Linked DNA regions of Homo sapiens: region 2 is linked to region 1. Evidence: promoter capture Hi-C in human tissues and cell types (Jung and others, 2019). All regions are on one chromosome and are shown on one strand. Each heading gives the region's core, a stretch centred on a gene start or on the middle of the fragment in contact. The rest is flanking DNA. Distances are from core to core; before and after follow the strand shown. Region 1 holds the start of IPO9 (importin 9). Region 2 holds the start of GPR37L1 (G protein-coupled receptor 37 like 1).

The links. Contacts are between HindIII fragments. The study calls those that stand out against the background at their distance.
Region 2: a contact is called between the fragment with the promoter of GPR37L1 here and the fragment with the promoter of IPO9 in region 1, in 2 of the 25 tissues and cell types used here (IMR-90 fibroblasts and heart left ventricle).

Annotation. Positions count from the first base shown.
Region 1 is chr1:201,826,539-201,830,492 of GRCh38, reverse strand. It overlaps IPO9 (importin 9), which reads right to left and starts at 1,336. Exons shown (of 24, transcript NM_018085.5): 1 at 1,121-1,336. The coding sequence starts at 1,283. IPO9-AS1 (IPO9 antisense RNA 1) reads left to right here and starts at 934. Exons shown (of 3, transcript NR_046696.1): 1 at 934-1,542. It overlaps NAV1 (neuron navigator 1), which reads right to left. Exons shown (of 34, transcript NM_001389617.1): 34 at 3,524-3,954. RefSeq lists enhancers at 1,037-1,246, 1,258-1,552, 1,709-2,222, 2,223-2,737 and a silencer at 1,297-1,536. The HindIII fragment of the contact is 5,409 bases long and covers 1-3,689 here.
Region 2 is chr1:202,121,439-202,124,924 of GRCh38, reverse strand. It overlaps GPR37L1 (G protein-coupled receptor 37 like 1), which reads right to left and starts at 2,008. Exons shown (of 2, transcript NM_004767.5): 1 at 1,332-2,008. The coding sequence starts at 1,961. It overlaps LOC105371683 (a long non-coding RNA gene), which reads left to right. Exons shown (of 3, transcript XR_922422.3): 2 at 867-974; 3 at 1,192-1,338. The HindIII fragment of the contact is 29,285 bases long and covers 1-3,486 here.

The sequences.
Region 1 (3,954 bases), core at 87-2,586:
AATCTTAACATATTTCCAACAGAAGAAAATTTGTTTTCAACAGCTCTTTCATACTGTGAAAGAATGTAAACTAAATTTAAGAGAGATTTGTTCTAAATTCTTTTCAATAGAAATACGTCCAGTAGGAGAGCTAACTGAAGGTTTTGAATATGATGGGTGTGTGATGGGACAATTTCCCATATCTCTGATGAAGTATTTAAGTGGTGGTGGAAATATTCCTGAGTTGGGAGATTCTGAGGATTTGGAGTTCCAGTGAAGCTCTGACCAGATATATTTCTTACACAAAGACCAAGAAGATTTCTCCTCCTGTTTCTGGATTAAATTGTTCTTTGTGGTAGCTACACTGGACCCGGTGAAAGGCTCACGCGGCAGGAAATTGATAGAAAATCTCGAACCAATGGTTTATTTTCTTCTCCATCACTTTAAAGCACACAATAGAGGACGGAGACAAAGAATCAAAAACAAAGGATGATCAGTTCCTCCAAACAGAAATGCACAAAGGTATTTAATAAGGGCAAATTATTTTTAAAATAAACGTTAAGTATGGTCAGGACAGTGAAGCAATCGCATATGCATTTAATTTCTGGGAAAACACGAAGAGTACAAACAACTAGCTAGGTTTATAACTCAGAGGCAGAAACTTGTTTGATGACATCTATTAAGCTTTGATAGCCGCCTTTTCGAGGCCCTACCCTTCACCACTCCTACTAATAGCTCCCCCTACTCTTATCCCAGTACAATCCAGCTGGTGAAGAGAACAGCGAAAGACTTTGGTCCTGGACTCAAAAAATATTTCCCCGACCGCGCTACTTCCTCCAACAGCACCAAGTCTAGCTCCATCTCCGTCCCCTGCAGATTCTAGGCTCCATCTATCTTTTCAAGTCTCCACCCTCCCTCCCCCACTCCCAGGCTCCACCTCCCCCGACCCTATCCTTCAGGCGCGCCTCTCCTCTCTCGGACTTTCACAACCACCAGCGACATCAATCTCTCGCTTCCTGCTCCACTTCTCGGCGCCCACATCTCCAACTGGCTCAGGCTCCCCATGTCCCCAGCCGGTACGGAGCTGCGGTCAGCGGATTGTGCGGCTGAGCCATCCTCGTGACGGTCCCGCCTCACTCACCCTCCGTCACCTCCAGCACCTTAATCTGTTCTTCAGCAGCCGCCCGCACCTCCTGTACTGGGGATAGGATCCCGGTGAGCGTATCCACTAACGCTTCCTTTAATCCTTGTGCCACTGGACCCGGCAGCCCGGAGGCCGCACCAGCTGCCGCCGCCGCCGCCATCTTTTCTCCCCTCAGCCCGCCAGCCCCGCGGCCGGGACCCGCCACCGAATGACGGCCCCCGCGCGCGGCCAATCCGCGAAGCCGCGCCTGCGCACCAGAGGCGGGCGGGAGCGGGCGGAGGGCGGGGAATGAATCTAAGCCTCCAGAGACAGCGCCTCCTGCTGCCTGAACGAGAACTGCACCTTTCTCTGCAAGGATCTCTGGATTTGTGTGAAAACTGAGCCCCAGACAGGTTAAGGGGCTTTCCTAAAGTTGCACAGTAAGTTAGCAATCTCATTTGGAATAAAGTTCATGATATATGACTTTATATTCATGCATCTTTCAGGTGTTAGGAGAGAGGAGGCGGGATGGGAATAGATGTAGAGGGCTTTAAGGAGAGAGGTCTGGGTCACAAATAGCCCCTATTTTAAACCACATTCTTTTCCCCCCAAACACTGAAAAAAAGTTGGCTCAAGTGACTCTCTTCATCTTAGCCTCAGGAATCCAAAGAGGGGGGAAAATAAACTAAAGCAAACTGGGAAGTGGAAGTGGGAAAACCACGGCCCAGTCCCTTGGTTTTCCAGCCTAGATGAGCCCAACCTCAAAGCTGGGAAGTGGCTGGGCAGGGGAGACACCGGCATGTGAAAGGGAGTTTCTTCCAGAGTGAGTGTTGTATGTGACTATTTGAGAATGAATCCTATTTGTTGAAAATGTATAAATTTTTTTCCCTGAGAAATTATGGCTGGACATTTAAGGGGTGCGAGAACAAGAGCAGTTTGATGATATGGTTGTCAGCAGCTGGTCGTGGGAAATGGCCTACGGTGCAGAGCCGCTCCTGAATAGCGGAGCAGGTGGAGAGGATGAGCGCTCCAGTGAGGTGTTAAAAATGCAGGGTGTGGCGAGGCGCAGTGGCTCACGCCTCTAATCCTAGCACTTTGGGAGGCCGAGGCAGGAGGATCGCTTGAGCCCAGGATTTCGAGAACAGCCTGGGCAACATAGCGAGACTTCGTCTCTACAAAAAAATACAAAAATTGCCCAGGCGTGGTGGCGTACGCCCTGTAGTCCCGGCTGTTCGGGAGGTGGAGGTGGGAAGATCACTTGAGCCCAGGAGGAGGAGGCTGCAGTGAGCAGTGATTGCGCCATTGCACTCCAGCCTGGGCGACAGAGTGACATCTTGTCTCAGAAAAAGAAGAAAAAGCAAGATGTAAGCCAAGGCAGGAGGATCACTTGAGCCCAGGAGTTCCAGGCTGTAGTGTGCTGTCATCACACCTATGAATAGCTACTGCATTCCAGTCTGGGCAAGATATACAGACTCTGTCTATAAAAAAAAATAAAAATTAAAAAAAATGCAGGGCAGAGTGGCAAGCATGTAGTGGCAGAAAGGATAGAATGTTGTTGGAATGGGAGGTTCTAGAGCAAACAGAAACAGGTATTTTTTAGTGAGCTGTTCAGGTTATGTGCCTTCAAAATGGTTCCCAGGAACCCTTATCAAGTGAGTTCATTCTCACATGGCAAAGGAAACGAGTTACCAAATCCTAGGTCACTTCCAAGACTGTGGATGCTGGACTGGTAACAATCAGGGATTAAGTCATCTCATCAGAAGATTACTTCAAAAGAAAGCTTTCTCAATTATTTATTTTTGAGTTGGGGGGGTCTTGCTATGTTGCCCAGGCTGGACAGGTGATCCTCCCACCTCAGCATCCAGAGTAGCTAGAACTACAGGTACACCCACTGCAACTGGCTTGAAGAGAGTTCTCAACACACTTGTCACCTCCCATGTTAAGAGGGCAGAGATGAGTTATGTTACTACAATTTCATAGGGAAAAGATTGCTTCTTGGACCCTTCAATTTTGCAATGGGGAATAGTAAGCCTATTTACTTTCTTGAAGTGGCCAAAAGAAGTTGAACTTGATTACAACAGCTTCTAATAGGTCAGTTCACTTTTACCCCAAGAAGAAAATTTAGCAAAGTCAAGAGGGTGGTATGTTTTCAAACACTGCAGCAACCCAGATGGAGGACTCCGGAGCCTTGATGTTTGGGCTGGATGTTTTGAGATCCGGTGAAGGATTCTATGTCCATAATGTGCGAGCAGGGGTTCCTCCCACCCCCAACCATGGGAGTCAGGAGACTCTAGCTTAGGGTTTCAGGTTACTTCTGGGTTAGGCAAATGACCACAAGCAGTCTGGCCTTGCCAATCAAGGAATGGGCCACAAGATAAATGGAGACAGAAACCAGGCAGAGAGGGAGCTAGAGAACCAGTGGACAGTACAGGAGATAACTTTATTGAAACGCAAATGGCATTGAACAGATGAATCTTGCTGGGAGGAGACATGCCAGATGGACAGAGGGCCCAGATTGGGGGTGGCCTCAGTGGTGATGAAGGAAGGCCTCTTCAGCTGGCTCTGGCATGAATTTTATTTTTAAATAATTTGTTATTTAAAATGAATTACTGAGGGGACAGCCCGGCTCTCTCTTCATGATTGTTACCGCAACTATATACAACAGTTTGCTTTCCAGATTCAATTTCGCTTTTTCTACATTAGATATAAAAGGGGGTAGGTTGAAAGAGGGGAGGGTCAAATAAAAAACATAAACACACAGACATACACATATCCTGGTTTGGGATTTTGCACCCAATAACTTAAAAAAAAAGTGTTGCAAAAACTTCTGCCCACTCTCCACCTGAGGAACA
Region 2 (3,486 bases), core at 759-3,258, 290 kb before region 1:
CAAAGTGCTGGGATTATAGGCATGAGCCACTGTGCCTGGCACAGGGTCTTCTTTCAGGGTGGAGTAACTTTGTACCACTGTTAGTCAGTCTCCCTGGGTTGGGAAGGACAGGAAAGGACTGTACCCACTGCTGAGACACAGGGAGTCTGTCCAACTATGACATCATCATTGTTACATGGTGAGGTGGGGACAGACCTTGGAATAGGACCTGTGTCCGTAATGCTGATCCTGAGCCCTTCTCCGGCCAGGCAAGTCCCCCTTGTCATGCAGCATCATTCACGAAGGAACAGCAGCTTCACAGGGAGACCACAGTCACTCCATTACACTCCATGCAGCCAAAATTTGAAAGACTGTTTGCTTATTTTGTCTTACAGAGAGAGAGAGGGTGGCCTTGCTGTGTCTTGCATAAATGCACACATCAGTATGTTTCTGCAGTGTTTTAAGTTGTCTCTCTATGCTCTACATATCCTTTGACACCCATGGACTTATCGTAGACGCTACCAGAAGTAAGGGCATAGTGGTATACTTTAGAACTGTGAAACAGGCCAGCTGGAAGGACCATCTGGTCTACCCGCCCTGGTTGGGAGATAAAGAAATTGGAGAGGTAATGCAACCTGCCCAGTGACGCCCAGTATGTCAGTGGCAGAGCTAAGACTAGAGCCCCCCATTAGTTCCAGTGCCCAGAACCAGGTATCCCTTTCAGAGAGGATCTAGGAAGTTGCTGATGGAAATGACAACGATAACAATGAGAATCCCAGCAGGGAGGGAAGAACGGAGCGGTCTTTTGCTTCTGGTGCTTGTATTCTCATGGAGTGGATGCTGACTTGATCCAGAGGGGTGTGAAGGAAATTGGGCTCTCCCTTCAGGCACTCCTTCAGGAGGCAGGAGACGGAGGAGCAGCGAAGGAAGCTGTGGGAGCAGGGCAGCGGCAGGGGGTACAGAGGAAAGAAGAGGAGTCACAACAAAGGACAGAGGTATCTTGGGTGGGACAGGGGAGAAGGGCTGAGGAAGGGAGAGGGCAGCTTAGGGTCTGGAGAAAGTGGCAAAGGCCTGCCTTGAGGTTGCTCCCGAAGCAGAAGATCAGGCTGGGGCTGGAACCCAGGGGCCCCACACACCCGCCTGTCCCCCTGGCCTGCCTACTTCTCTTGAGAGCAACCAGAAACCAATACCGTATTTGTCTCCTTCTCCAAGGTAAAGGAGGAGCAAGTCAGAGCTCCAAGACTCAGGTTTTGCACACCCACAAATTCCATTTCCAAAGACCTGATGGAGACTTTGAGTCCCTTCCCTGGATTGCAGCCTCCCAGCAGAGCTCAAACAGAACACACACTCACCTCCATGAAGGGCACGGCACGACAAGAAACGTCACCCAGTAGCCTCTGCTTGGTGATCTCGTTGAAGATGACAATAGGGAGGCAGAAAAAGAGGACCAGAAAATCCCAGAGGGCCAGGCTGGCAAGGATGGAGTTCCAGGCACTCTTCAGGTAGTAGCTGTGCCACACGATGCACATGACCGACAGGTTGCCCACAATGCCCACCGCAAACACCACCAGCGCCAGAAGCATGATGGCATAGGCACTGTAGGAGCTCTCGGTCACCGGATACAGGGGGTTCTGGATCTGTAGCCTCTGCCCTGGTGCTCCTGTCAGATTGCCCCTCAGTTCCTGCCCACTGTCTGGGGTGCCCCCATCCTTGCCGGGGTTAGGGCTGGTGGCCACCAAGGGCTTGGTTGGCTGCAGGCCAGCAGGGTGAATGGGCCGGGGGTACTCCGCCCACTCCTCAGGCACATACTGCTGCACGCCCTTGGCCTCCTCATCCTCGGTGCCCCTCTTGGATCGGCTCTGCTGCTCCTGGGTCTCGGCTCTGTGCCTGCCCAGGTGCAGGGGGGCACCCCCAGAGACCCTGCTTAGCCCCACAGCCAAAATCACAGCAAGAGAGACAGCCAGGGGCCACAGCCACCGCATGGCTGGATGAGCAGGAGACAGCCAGCCCAGGAAGAGCAGGTGAGTGCAGGGGGCCCAAGAGCTGGGCTCCAGAGAGGCAGCTGGCCGGCTGGATCCGCCTCCAGTCAGGCGTCTGGCATCACTCGCCTGCCCTCCCTCCCAGCCTCCGGCCACAGGCCGGGCAGGGCCCTCTGCTGGACACATAGCACTCTTTGCTGCCCTCACACATCTCGTCCTCCACGACGCCGCTTCTCAGGCCCTACAGCATGTCAGGCTGTGGGGCCCTAAGAGGGCATCTGCTTCAGGCCCCTGAAACTAGGGAGGAAATGTGGCCTGCCTAGGGTGACACAGGGAGGTGGGGCAGAATGGGAACTGGGGCGCAGGTCTCCTGATTCTAAGGCAGCTCCTCCATTCAAAACTCAGCAATAACCATCACTGTCACTTACTGAACACTTACTAGGTGCTAGCACTCAGCTGGTTTCTCAATTAACCCTTGATTAATCTCAGATCACAAATCTGAGGTTTGTAGAGGTCAGTCACTTGCCACATAGTTGATACAAGGCAGAGCAAGGCCCACAACCCAGATCTGACTCCAGAGATTTCTAATTTTTTTTTTTTTTTCGGTTGCCCAGGCTGGAGTGCAATGGCGCGGTCTTGGCTCACTGCAGCCTCCGCCTCCTGGGTTCAAGTGATTCTCCTGCCTCAGCCCCCTGAGTAACTGGGATTACAGTTACTGTAGTGCCCGCCACCATACCCGGCTAATTTTTGTATTTTTAGTAGAGACAGGGTTTCACCGTGTTGACCAGGCTGGTCTCAAACTCCTAACCTCAGGTGATCCGCCTGCCTCAGCCTCCCAAAGTGCTGGGAGCCACCGCACCCGGCCTAAAACACCATATTCTGAGCCAGACACAAGATGTGTGGACATTTGCAATAACACGTCTTTACTGACTACGTGTTGTGTTCCAGACACTCAGAATACAAAAATGTAAAGGATCTCTGCCACCAATGAGCTTTCAGTCCAGAGAAGGAAGTAAATGTGTAAGTTCAGCATGATAGATGCTATGAAAGGCAAAGGTCATGATGCTGAGGGAACCCAAGAAAATCTGGGGGGGATCTGGAAGGCCTCCCAAGCGAGGTGACATTTGAATGGATCCCGAGAAATGGCTGTGAGCTTGCCTGACAGACTACGGGAAGGGAGGGTGCTCTAGGCAGAAGACACAGCACACACAAAGGCTGGGTGATGTGGAAGTGGGTGATGTTCCCGCAAGAGAGCAAGTCTGTCGAGGGGACTAGAGTGCAAGGGAGGTGGGGAGAGAGCATGGGCACTTGGGACAAAGAGCTTGGAAATATCAGCAGAGGAGGAACTGGACTGTAAAGGACTTTGTATGCCAAGCCAAGGAGTTTAGATTTTATCCCATAAGCAATGGAGAATATCACAGGTTGTTAAGTAGGCAAACAATGACTCAACTAAGTTATTTTAGAGGGGTCCCTGATGGGCAGCTGGGGTCCTAGCAATCTGGAACAGGAGGATGCAGAGACCGGGGGT